Regions from separate parts of the Homo sapiens genome. Here region 1 is linked to region 2. Evidence: promoter capture Hi-C in human tissues and cell types (Jung and others, 2019). All regions are on one chromosome and are shown on one strand. The core of a region is centred on a gene start or on the middle of the fragment in contact, and the rest is flanking DNA. Distances in the headings are between cores, read along the strand shown.

Evidence for each region. The method cuts DNA at HindIII sites, captures the fragments that hold promoters and counts their contacts. A contact is called where the count stands out against the background at its distance.
Region 1: the fragment with the promoter of KMT2A here is called in contact with a fragment that was not itself captured in region 2 in 1 of the 25 tissues and cell types used here (adrenal gland).

What each region holds. Positions count from the first base shown.
Region 1 is chr11:118,432,837-118,438,899 of GRCh38, forward strand. KMT2A (lysine methyltransferase 2A) reads left to right here and starts at 3,656. Exons shown (of 36, transcript NM_001197104.2): 1 at 3,656-4,108. The coding sequence starts at 3,677. RefSeq lists enhancers at 2,628-3,625, 2,825-2,964, 3,626-4,624, 4,625-5,622 and a silencer at 3,275-3,754. The HindIII fragment of the contact is 10,858 bases long and covers 1-6,063 here.
Region 2 is chr11:118,770,806-118,776,182 of GRCh38, forward strand. All of the region lies in intron 4 of DDX6 (DEAD-box helicase 6), which reads right to left. Among named protein-coding and RNA genes, the nearest start is that of DDX6, 18 kb to the right of the region's middle. The HindIII fragment of the contact is 5,946 bases long and covers 1-5,377 here.

The sequences.
Region 1 (6,063 bases), core at 2,406-4,905, 340 kb before region 2:
TTTTTTTTTTTGAGATGGAGTCTTGCTCTGTCGCCCAGGCTGGAGTGCAATGGTGGGATCTAAGCTCCCTGCAACCTCTGCCTCCCAGGTTCAAGCGATTCTCCTGCTTCAACCTCCCAAGTAGCTGGGATTACAGGCACTTGCCACCACACCCGGCTAATTTTTGTATTTTTCATAGAGATGGGGTTTCACCATGTTAGCCAGGCTGGTTTCAAACTCCTGACCTCATGATTCGCCCGCTTTGGCCTCCCAAATTACGGAGTGAGCCACCACGCCCGGCCTCCTTTTAAATTTTTTTTTTTAATTTTTTTTTTTTAGAGATGGAGTCTCACTCTGTCGCCCAGGCTGGAGTGCAGTGGTGCGATTTCGGCTCACTGCAACCTCCGCCCCCCGGGTTCAAGTGATTCCCCTGCCTCAGCCTCCCGAGTAGCTGATTACAGGCACCCGCCACCACACCCGCTAATTTTTGTATTTTTAGTCGAGACGGGGGTTTCACCATGTTGGCTAGGCTGTTCTTGAACTCCTGACCTCAGGTGATCTGCCCAGCTCAGCCTCCCAAAGTACTGGGATTACAGGCGTGAGCCACCGTGCCCGGCCTTAAATTTTTAACCATATGAATGTATTAGGTATTCAAGAAAAATATGTTGAATGAAAATTTAAAATAAAAAATAAGTAAAGCACATCGAATTTAAGGTACCTAATGTGTAAGGCACAGAATGTCTTTTTTTTTTTTTTTTTTTTTTTGAGACGGAGTCTTGCTGTCGCCCAGGCTGGAGTGCAGTGGCGCGATCTCGGCTCACTGCAGGCTCCACCCCCCGGGGTTCACGCCATTCTCCTGCCTCAGCCTCCCGAGAAGCTGGGAATACAGGCGCCCGCCACCTCGCCCAGCTAATTTTTTGTATTTTTAGTAGAGACGGGGTTTCAGTGTTAGCCAGAATGGTCTCGATCTCCTGACCTCATGATCCGCCTGCCTCGGCCTCCCAAAGTGCTGGGATTACAGGAGTCGTAATGTCTTTTTATGATCAGCAGGATGGTTAACGGATATTTGCTGTCAGACCCCAGTGAGTTTTAGCACTTCTACTTACTAGCTGTGTGACTTTAGACATTATTCTAAGCCTCAGTTTCCCCATATGTAAAATCAAACTTATAGAATTGGAGAGAATTGAGTGCACATAAAGCACTTAGGCTCACAGAAAGCACTGAAAAATGTTATTATTAATATTTTCGCCCTAAAATCTCCAACAATAAACCAAATTCTGACTTGCTCTGGCTCCTTTTGGACTAGTCTAGAGGCAAAGAGACAAACTATATGATTTCTCAAGGAGTTTTTCTGCTCAGAGGCTTGAGTCTGGGGACTCCACACAATATTCGAAGACATTCTTCCTTCTTTCTGCTGCCTTGCAACCTGCAGACCTCCCACCTGTGTTAAATGAAGAATGCTTGAAGTGAGGTTACTCAGAACCCACCCGGTTCATGTTTTCTCAAGGGTAGAAGGCGGGAAGAAATCTGTTGACACAGTTATATAAAGCCTGTCATTCAGTCCCCTGCCTATTACCTCTGCAGACCGTTATGCATATTAAAGAAGGGGGGGCGGCAAATACAAAAGAAAAATAAGAGAGACGAGAGAGAGAGAGAAAGAGAGAGAGAGAGAGAGAGAACGAACAAATCAGGATGCTTGAGGGAATCCACGTGGTCGCCAATCTGTAACTGATCAGAGCAGCTACACTGAAGCAAAAACCCCAGCGCCCAACGCTAAATATATTGCAATGGAGAAACCGTCCACAATGGGGTGTCTCTGTCCTTAGCAGAGCCTTGGGGCTGCCGTTTAAGACCCTCCTGCTACTCCCACCCTTTTAGCATCTAGTAAACCACGCGCTGTAACAACGGAATCTTGTTCTGTGTATTGCGTTGTGCGAGTGTGCGCTTTGCAAACCATCTGGGCCCCATCCTGCGCGGTTGGAACGAAGATCGATTCGGGACGAGTTGGGGGAGTTGAGGCTTGCCTGTGTCTCCTCCCTTTCATTGCTCCTCTCCAGCCCCCATCCCATCGTCCGCTCTGCACAAATGTTTCGCCAGTGGAGGGACGTAGGTTTTCAGCACCAGGAGGCTGTGGACCTTCTCTGGAGGCGTGAAGTGCACCCTCCGGAGGGCCAGAGCTGAGTGCAACCTGCTCACAACGACCCTCTCCCTCCTTCCCAAATTCGCCGCCCCAGGCTGTAATATTACATGCAGTGCGCTGTACCGGTGCGGGAGTCCAGGAAGGCTGCATGACCTTCCAGCGAACTCCCCCTCGGCTTGGGGGATGGAGGCTGCCCCGGGGCCTGCAGGCTGTGTATCGATCCCCCAGCCTCAGCCAACGCAAGTTCTCCCGACACAAACCCCTCCCTACCCTCTCGGCTTTCCCAGCCTTGCAGGCGTCTAACGCTATGCTCGAGGCGCCCTCCCCTCTTTCCCGCAATAAAGTAAACCCGGTGGATATTCATTCCCCTCCCTAACTCGCCTCCTTCTTTCCCCCTCCCCCCTCAGCTTACTAACCCCGCGCACAGAGCTCGCCGCCGGCGGGCCCCTTCCACCCAGTGTATCATAATGCCCAACGCTCTCCTCCTCCCCCTCTCTTAATCAGAAACGTGCTCGCGAGCCCCCCTCCCTCTGCGTGCATACATTAGGGTCTGCTTTGCATGCAGCGGCAGGCAGAGACCGGAGGAAGAAGGGGCGGGGGCGCTTTTGCCCGCCTCTTCCCTCCAGGCCCCGTTAGCCACCCAGCTTCAGCTTCGTTGTAACACCGCGTCGTTAGCGGAGCACGCCGTGGCCTCAGTGCCCGGGCTGGAGAAACACAACCCAACTCCCTGCAGAAGGGCACGAAAGCCAGACGAGTGCACAGTAGAGCGAGGAGGTGGCAGGAGACCTGCCACTCGGTGTGTGCTTTTTGGAAAGAGCTCCAGCATGAAAATGGGAGGGGCTCCTTTTTTATTTTTTAAAGTGCGTTCATTGAGGGCCTTTCTGTTTTGCATATAGTAAACTGGGCAGCGCTTCTGTTTTGCATGTAGTACAATAAGGGCTCTTTTATTCTAGAAGCGTTCAATTCGGGCTAACCCATCTTGTATCCGTGCCCTGGGGCGGAGGAGAAGGCTCACTGCTCCCCGACCCAGCCGCCGCGTTATACTGGAAGCTGCTCTCCCGGGCTGTTCGATTCCCAGCGCGTCCCGGGAACGTGTGTAATCGGCCTCTCGGCGCTCAAGGCTGCAGGCGGCCCGGCTCCCTACGCCTCCATCCTCCGCGTAGTCCTCGCCCCCTCCCCCTCTCTCCGGAACCCGCGCTCTGCTCCGGGCTCCCGGGCTTCCTTCCCCCCTCCTTTTCCCGAGCAATGCCTCTCCCGGAGGGCGGGGCATGCAGTTATCCAGGTTGCGGGGCCGGCGGGCGGGCAGGAGGCGGCGGCCCGGGCCTCGGGATGGAGTTGCAGCGCCCAGGCGTCAGAGGCGGAGGCCCGAGGCCGCTATACAGATTGCGGGGCTGGCGGGCGCGGCCCGGCGCTCTGCATAGCGGCCGGCAGGGTGCAGGCGGCCGGGCGGCGCAGAGCTGGTTAGGCAGGTTCCGGGGCCCCGTGCCCCCCCCTCCGCCTCCCCGCCCCCCTGTGTTGTCGCCTCTCCCTCTCGCTGCTTCACTTCACGGGGCGAACATGGCGCACAGCTGTCGGTGGCGCTTCCCCGCCCGACCCGGGACCACCGGGGGCGGCGGCGGCGGGGGGCGCCGGGGCCTAGGGGGCGCCCCGCGGCAACGCGTCCCGGCCCTGCTGCTTCCCCCCGGGCCCCCGGTCGGCGGTGGCGGCCCCGGGGCGCCCCCCTCCCCCCCGGCTGTGGCGGCCGCGGCGGCGGCGGCGGGAAGCAGCGGGGCTGGGGTTCCAGGGGGAGCGGCCGCCGCCTCAGCAGCCTCCTCGTCGTCCGCCTCGTCTTCGTCTTCGTCATCGTCCTCAGCCTCTTCAGGGCCGGCCCTGCTCCGGGTGGGCCCGGGCTTCGACGCGGCGCTGCAGGTCTCGGCCGCCATCGGCACCAACCTGCGCCGGTTCCGGGCCGTGTTTGGGGAGAGCGGCGGGGGAGGCGGCAGCGGAGAGGTAAGGGGGCGAGGAACCCCCAGGTCCGGGGTCTCGACCCTCTGCGGAGCCCCCTCCCCTCCCCCATCCGGGATTGAGGAGCATCCCAATTCTGGGACCATCTCGGGGTCCCTGACCCGGGGCGAATGGCTCTCCCATCTTGGGACCCCCATGCAGGGCTGCAGACCCCCAGGCGCCCCCACCCCGGGGTTTGGGCCCATCTGGCTGAGGGCGTTTGCCCCCCGCTCTCCTCCCCCTGACCCTTCCCCAAATCCCTTGGCACAGACCCCCTCGCCGGGGTTTCCCATCCCGGGACTGAACCCCTCCTCCCTTTCACAGATTACCTCATCCGAGCAAGATTCCTCCCTCCCTCCCTCCTAGAGACCTGATCCCGCCACATCCCCGCCTCCCTCTCTGGGCAGATGTGTTACTCCTAGGGCAGTTTTCCTCTCGGGCGTCTCTCGGGTGATGGCCTCATCCAGGGCCACGTTCTCCTGGCCCTTGGGGATCGTGTCCCTTCCAGCACCTTGCTTTCGAAAACCCGATGAACCCTCGCGCCATCCCCGGGCCAGGTCCCTATACTGCCAGCCACTCCCCCTTCCTTCACCTCCACCCTCTACCCCCACCCCAAGCAGACCGATCCTCCCCCATCCCGCCCTACCCCACCGGGGAAAATCTCTCCTCTGCACCTTGCCTGGTCTCACCTCCTTTCCCTCTGAAGATAACGGTGATTCCTCATACAGCAGTCTCTTCCCCCCCCCGCCCCGTCTTACAGGGCTACAGTTTCTAGCCTATTGGTAGCCGGGAATTACTCTACCTTCACTCCACCCTTTCCCTCCTTTAGAATGAAGGATTAGTGGCATCTTGGAGGGGAAAATAGTCCACTGTCCCCTAGGCTTAGAGAAGAGCAGCTTTCCACCACTCCCCTTGGAGAGGAGGCAGGCTTTCCCTCCAGCTCTGGGGAAGGGGGCCCCTGTGAGGGGAGGTGTTTGTTGGGGGACTGAGGCAGCATCCTCCCAGGGGAAGCAGCTGCTCTCCTACCCCACCCACTGCGCCTGAGAGCACGCAGTCTCCAACCCGAGCTCCCTCCCGCCCTTCTCTTCTCGTCATTTCATTATTGATCCACCTTTTCCTAGGCCAATCCTGGGGCTTGGAAGGGGTGGGGGAAGCCAGGTTGGGGTGAGGAGAGTAGATAAGGGACAGTTATACTTTAGTGTGGTGGCGGTGGTTGCTTTGGGATGGGAGAAAAAGGATTATCAAGCAAAGTTATTCCTTAGAAAGGACTTGGGGTTGTCTCTGATTCTTGTAAGGGGACCCAAGGTGGATGAAGGGTCAGAGCGTTGCCCCTTCCCCATTAGTACTGGGGCAAGAACGGAGTTGCTTCTATAAACATTATTCGGCCCCCTTCAGCAAAAAGGAAAGTTGCCCAAGGAAGGGAAGTTGAGTTCAGGTTCAGCCAGTGGCGTTGCGCATTTGTTTTCCATTGGATGCAGAAGGGGGGAGTTCGAATTGTAGAGGGGGGAGGATGGCATGGGGGATGCTAGGAGGAGGAAGAGCAGCTGCTAGGGGCTGAAGCGAAGGGGGGTAGGGGGTTGCTGCTCTGGAGTGCTCTTGATTGAAACAGAAAGGGAAAGATAACAACCAGCCGTTTCCTGCGTGCTCTGCCGTTGGTGCACACAAAATATCCTGGGCAAACCCCTTGTCCCCTATTGTGCCCCGCACCCCTTTAGATTTACGGAAAGATCCTGGGAAGAAGGGGAGGGAGGAGATCCCAAGGACCCTGGCCCCTCCTTTCAAGGAGCTGGCATTTTTTAGTTGTTAGTCTTCCTGCCTCCTTTTTTTTAATCGTTTCTAAGGCAGCCTGATCAGGAGACTGACAACAACCCGCCTTCTGACAGAGCAAGGAGGACATGATGGGGGCGTGTTCCTTGCTATGTAGCTAGCTGCAGCGTCCCCTTTCCCTGCCTCTTTCTGCT
Region 2 (5,377 bases), core at 1,457-3,956:
CAGGAGGAGGAGGTTGCAGTGGGCCAAGATTGCGCCACTGCACTCCAGCCTGGGCAATGGAGCAAGACTCAGTCTCACAAAAAAAAAAAAAAAGAGAGAGAAAAGAAAAGAAAATACTGTTGTCTTGTTCTTACAGCCAGCATTAAAGACTCTGCTTATTAAGGTAAAGCAAACAAAGAAGAAAACCTTGGCTTTAACCCTTTGGTCTTAAATTTCTTCCCTCATCACAGATAAGTGAACCATTATTTCCAGTTGTTCCAGAGGCTCCCATTACCCTGTCACCTCAGGTTTTCTCTTTTGTGGTTCTGTGGTGCCAGTAGTCTGTAGTTTTTAACAGGCTGCCTGCACACTACTCAGTTTTACAGTATTGAAAAAGTAAGATAGGTGGTCTCTGATGGTCTCATAACGACTTGCTGGGTCAGGTTCTTTAAAGTGTAAACCTTTTTTTCAATCAAGTGAGGCAGAACAGAATTAGACTAGAGGTATCCTAATCCCCCTTTTCAGTTCATCTTTTGACTGACTTGATTAAGGCCATTGACTTCTATTCCTTTGCCCTCTTTGACAGGGATTATACCCTACAAAAACTGTTCAAGGATAAAGCTTTAACAAAGTACATGTGATAGACTGTAAGTTAAGACACCCTGATATTTTGCCTTATATGATGGCCATTATGATTAACAGTCAGTGAATTCAGCACATCCACACTGCCTCTTACCAGTGTTTCTCAGGAAATAATGAAAAGCAAGAGAATTCAAGTCAAGTTCAAAAAGCTGTGAAATACAAGAGGAAATTATGAGGAACTGCCAGGGAGAAGGCAAAGGAGGAAGGAAACGAAAACTTTTTTTAAAACTTACTATGTGCTCAGCACAACTTTCAAGTTAGGTACTTTGTTTTACAACTGACAAAATGGATCCTAAACAGGATTAGTTTGCCCAAGGTCACAAAGCAAGAAATGCTTTAGCCAGTATTTGAACTTAGATCTGCACATAACATGTAGGCAAGAAGTTGGAGAAAATGGAACTCTCATACACTGCTAGTGGGAATGTACAGCTACGCTGGAAACCAGCCTTGCAGTTCCTCAAAAGGTTAAAAAGAGTTACCATATGAACTAGCAATTCTAGGTATACAGCGAAGAGAAATAAAAACATCTCCACACAAAAACCTGCACCTGAATTTTCATAGCAGCATTATCCTTAATAGCCAGTTCCTTCTATGTTTTTTTTTATAATAGTACAAACTTTATTCATAAATAAAACTTCATAAGGTTAAAGCAGGGTCAGTTCCTATTTTAAAAAGGGAACAGGGGAAGGCAGCCTGCTATTTTATTTAAAATCACAAGTTAGGTTTTTCAGACGGATGACAGTTGAGATCATTAAATCCCCTTCCTACTTCTCAGATTTTCACAAAATAGCACATTAAATCCTCAGTCCTTGGAAAACAACCCCAAATGTCTACCAACTGATGACTGGATAAATCAGAAGTAATAGAGCCATACAATAAAATATTATTCAGGAAAAAGGAATGGAATATTGATACAAGCTACAACACAGATGAACTCGGAAAACATTACGCTAAGTCAAAGAAGCCAGTCACAAAAAAAACACATACTATAGGATTCTATTTATATGACATGTCCAGACTAGGCAAAGCTAGAATGACAGAAAGTATACCAGTGGTTGTTTAGGGGTGTGGGAAAATGAGGTGTGACTGCTAAAAGGGTTTCTTTTGTGGGACTGATCAAAATGTTCTAAAATTTATTGTGGTAATGGTTGCAGAACTCTAAATGCACTAAAAAGCATTAAATTGTATACTTTTGATGTGTGATGTCATTTATATCTCAATAAAGCTATTACCCCCAAAAAACAAAACCCCAAAAAACCAACCCCACAAGCTTAGGGCTGACATCTGCCACCTTAGGTCTCCAAATTCACATTCACTGTAACGTTTAGATAATGACTGAAGAGTATTTGTTGTGTTTTGGTTACTCTAGTATCCCTTTACTAAGTAACACCCCAATTTCCTTCTAAGGAATTACATATGCCCTGGTCTCCCCTGTCCCAACAGACCAAGCCTCACCAATTTTCTAAGCCAAGTGGTAGACACATAGCCCACACTGGGCCAGCGGAATGTTGCCTCCTAAGAATCTAAATTGTTATAGTGCATCCATTACAGCTTCCTAAGTCCTTCAGAGCTATCTCAATTCTTAGTCATTTCCAAGTATGTTTCTCTAGCCTTCTCAATCTTGTGAATTCCCGTTATTTTTCCAATAAATTTCCTTTTGCTTAAGTTAGATCGAGTTGGTTTCTGATGCCTATAATTAAAGAATGGTTTATTTTCCAATCTCCTAGCATTGAGAGGCATTTTACAAAAGTGTGGTACCAACAAAAGCTCAACATCACCCAACTAGCTGCATTTACACTGACTGCTTCCTCTTATTTTCCAAACCTTAATTTCCAAGAGGGAAAAAAAACCTATGGTTAAAGGCCGGGCGCGGTGGCTCACGCCTGTAATCCCAACACTTTGGGAGGCCGAGGTGGGCAGACCATGAGGTCAGGAGATGGAGACCATCCTGGCTAACATGGTGAAACCCCGTCTCTACTAAAAAAATACAAAAAAATTAGCCGGGCGTGGTGGCAGGCGCCTGCAGTCCCAGCCACTTGGGAGGCTGAGGTAGGGGAATGGCGTGAACCCAGGAGGCAGAACTTGCAGTGAGCCAAGATTGCACCACTGCACTCCAGCCTGGGCGACAGAGCGAGACTCTGTCTCAAAACAAAATAAAACAAAACAAAAAAACAACCTATGGTTACTCCAGACGAGGTAGCAATGATTGTTACAAATGTCCCCTGCTTAACAGGAAAAAAAAAAAGGGAGATGGTAATTTCTAATTATATCTCTAATTTAGGCTGGGGATGGTGGCTCACACCTGTAATCTCAACCCTCTGCAAGGCTGAGGCAGGAGAACTGCTTGAGGCCAGGAGTTCAAGACCAGCCAGTGTGACAAACTGAGACTCTGTCTCCCCGACCCCACCCAAAAAGAAAACAAAACAAAACACACACCAAAAAAAAAAACAAAACAAACAAACAAAAAAAACCTTTGAGTTTTTAGGAAATATTTTTTTCAATCATGATAAACCGATTGTTAGCAGGAAGAATGACTTATTTACAGGATTCAGAATGCTATAATTCCTAACTATAAATAGTAAACTATTAATCCTCATTAGACCTTAGCTGACCTGGCACAAAATTTTGTTGCCAACAGTACGGAGCTTCCATGTTTCCCTCAATAATCAACTACTTCTCATTTCTTCACCTTCTTAGAGTTTCGAAAAAGTCTTCAAGAGGTGTTCCCAGGGTTTAGAAGCAACGAGAGAGGCCATCTTTCTCAATCATAACCCCAAAGTTAATATAAAGTTTCAAATAATGCTAAGCAGACAAAAACAGTATATTCTTAAGCCTTCCAAAGAAGTCTAGGTTCCTATAAAGCTATACCTTTAGAATGGCAATTATTCTACTGGCCACAGCATCCAGACCTAGAACTGGTCACAGATGGCTCTAGAAATACGTTGTGGGAGCAATCTGTAGTATATCTGGTTCCAGCCTGTCAATGTAAAAGCTCTTTTGAGAGCATATAATTTTAAGTGCCTAATTCTCTAACAGTCTTTTTTTTTTTTTTTTTTTTGTGAGACAGGGTCTTGCTCTGTTGCCCAGGATGGAGTGCAGTGACACAATCCTGGCTCACTTACAGCCTCAACCTCCTGAACATCTAAGACTACATGTCCCCCATGCCCAGCTAATTTTTGTACAGTCAGGGTTTTGTCATGTTGTTTAGGCTGGTTTTGAACCCCTGGACTCAAGCAATCCACCCACCTTGGCTTCCCAAAGTGCTGGGATTATAGGCATGAGCCACTGCACCCAGCCAATTCTCCAAATCTCACAGCCAAACTGCAACTAAATTCCATCTCAAACAAATATTCAAATGCAGAAGACTCACCCATCTAATCAAGGCAGTTTTAATATTTAGGGGAAAAAAAATGCCTGGATAAAACTGTAAAACCAAGCATGATAGAAGAGATACTTTTAGGAATGGGGGAGGGATGACAAAAATAAAACGAGAAGGTAGATAAGAATGGAAAGAATACTAGAAGACAGCCTGCCATGAGGTTATATTTTACCAGGGGGGTGATGGGTGCACCCAAATCTCAGAAATAGCAACTAAATAATTTACTTGGCCAGGCGTGGTGGCTCACGCCTGTAATTCCAGTACTTTGGGAGGCCGAGGAGAGTGGATCGCCTGAGGTCAGGAGTTCAAGACCAACCTGGACAACATGGTGAAACCCCGTCTCCACCAGAAATACAAAAATCAGCCGGGTATGCTGGTGCCCGCCTGTAATCCCAAGTCACTTGGGAGGCCGAGGCACGAGAATCGCTTGAACCCGGGAGGCAGAGGTTGCAGTAAGCCGAGAGCACACCATTGCACTCCAGCCTGAGCGACAGAGCAAAACCCTGTCTCAAAAACAAAAGAATTTACTCATGTAACCAAACACCACCTGTTCCCCCAAAAAACCTATGAAAATAAAAATTTAAAAAATTTTTTTACTAGGGGATCTGTAAATTTTGTTTCGGTTCTAAAATCCTAATATTTGTGACTTGTAACTCTGATTGATTCTAAGAAACACATAATCTTGTGCTTTCCATGGATCCCCAGGACAAAACAATAGGAAAGAAAAAGGCAATAAAAAAAAAGAAAAAGGCAATACAAGTGGTGACCTTGAGTATCTAAAACAATATACTCATACAATACCTTGCTATTTCAAAATACTTTGGTTGTACACTACATTTGATCTTAACAATAAAAATCCTGTGAGGGAGAGTACTTATTTCTACTTTACAGAAAAAGCTGGATGTCAGATTGGTTAAGTGGCTGAAGAGTTAATTGCCTATATGCTATAACAACACTCAGAGTACAAGTAACAAAGTTAATTTTAAATTTTAATACAAGGTAAGAAATAGGAGTCAGCAAATATCCACTAAGAATGAGGACTGGGCTAAGTGCAGTGGTTCACATCTATAATTCTAGCACATTGGGAAGCCAAGGCAGGAGGACTGCTTGAGCCCAGGAGGTCAAGACCAGCCTGGTCAACATGGCAAAACCTTGACTCTACCAAAAACAAAAACAAAAACAAAAACAAAAAACAACCAGGTGTGCTGGTACTACACTATCATCCTTACTCAGGAGGCTGGGGCAGGAGTATCACGTGAGCCCAGGAGTTTGAGGCTGCAGTGAGCTAAGATTCTGACACTGCATCCAGCCCAGGCAACTTAGCAAGACTCAGTCTCTTTAAAACAAATTTAAAACAATTACGTCTCCTAAATTAAC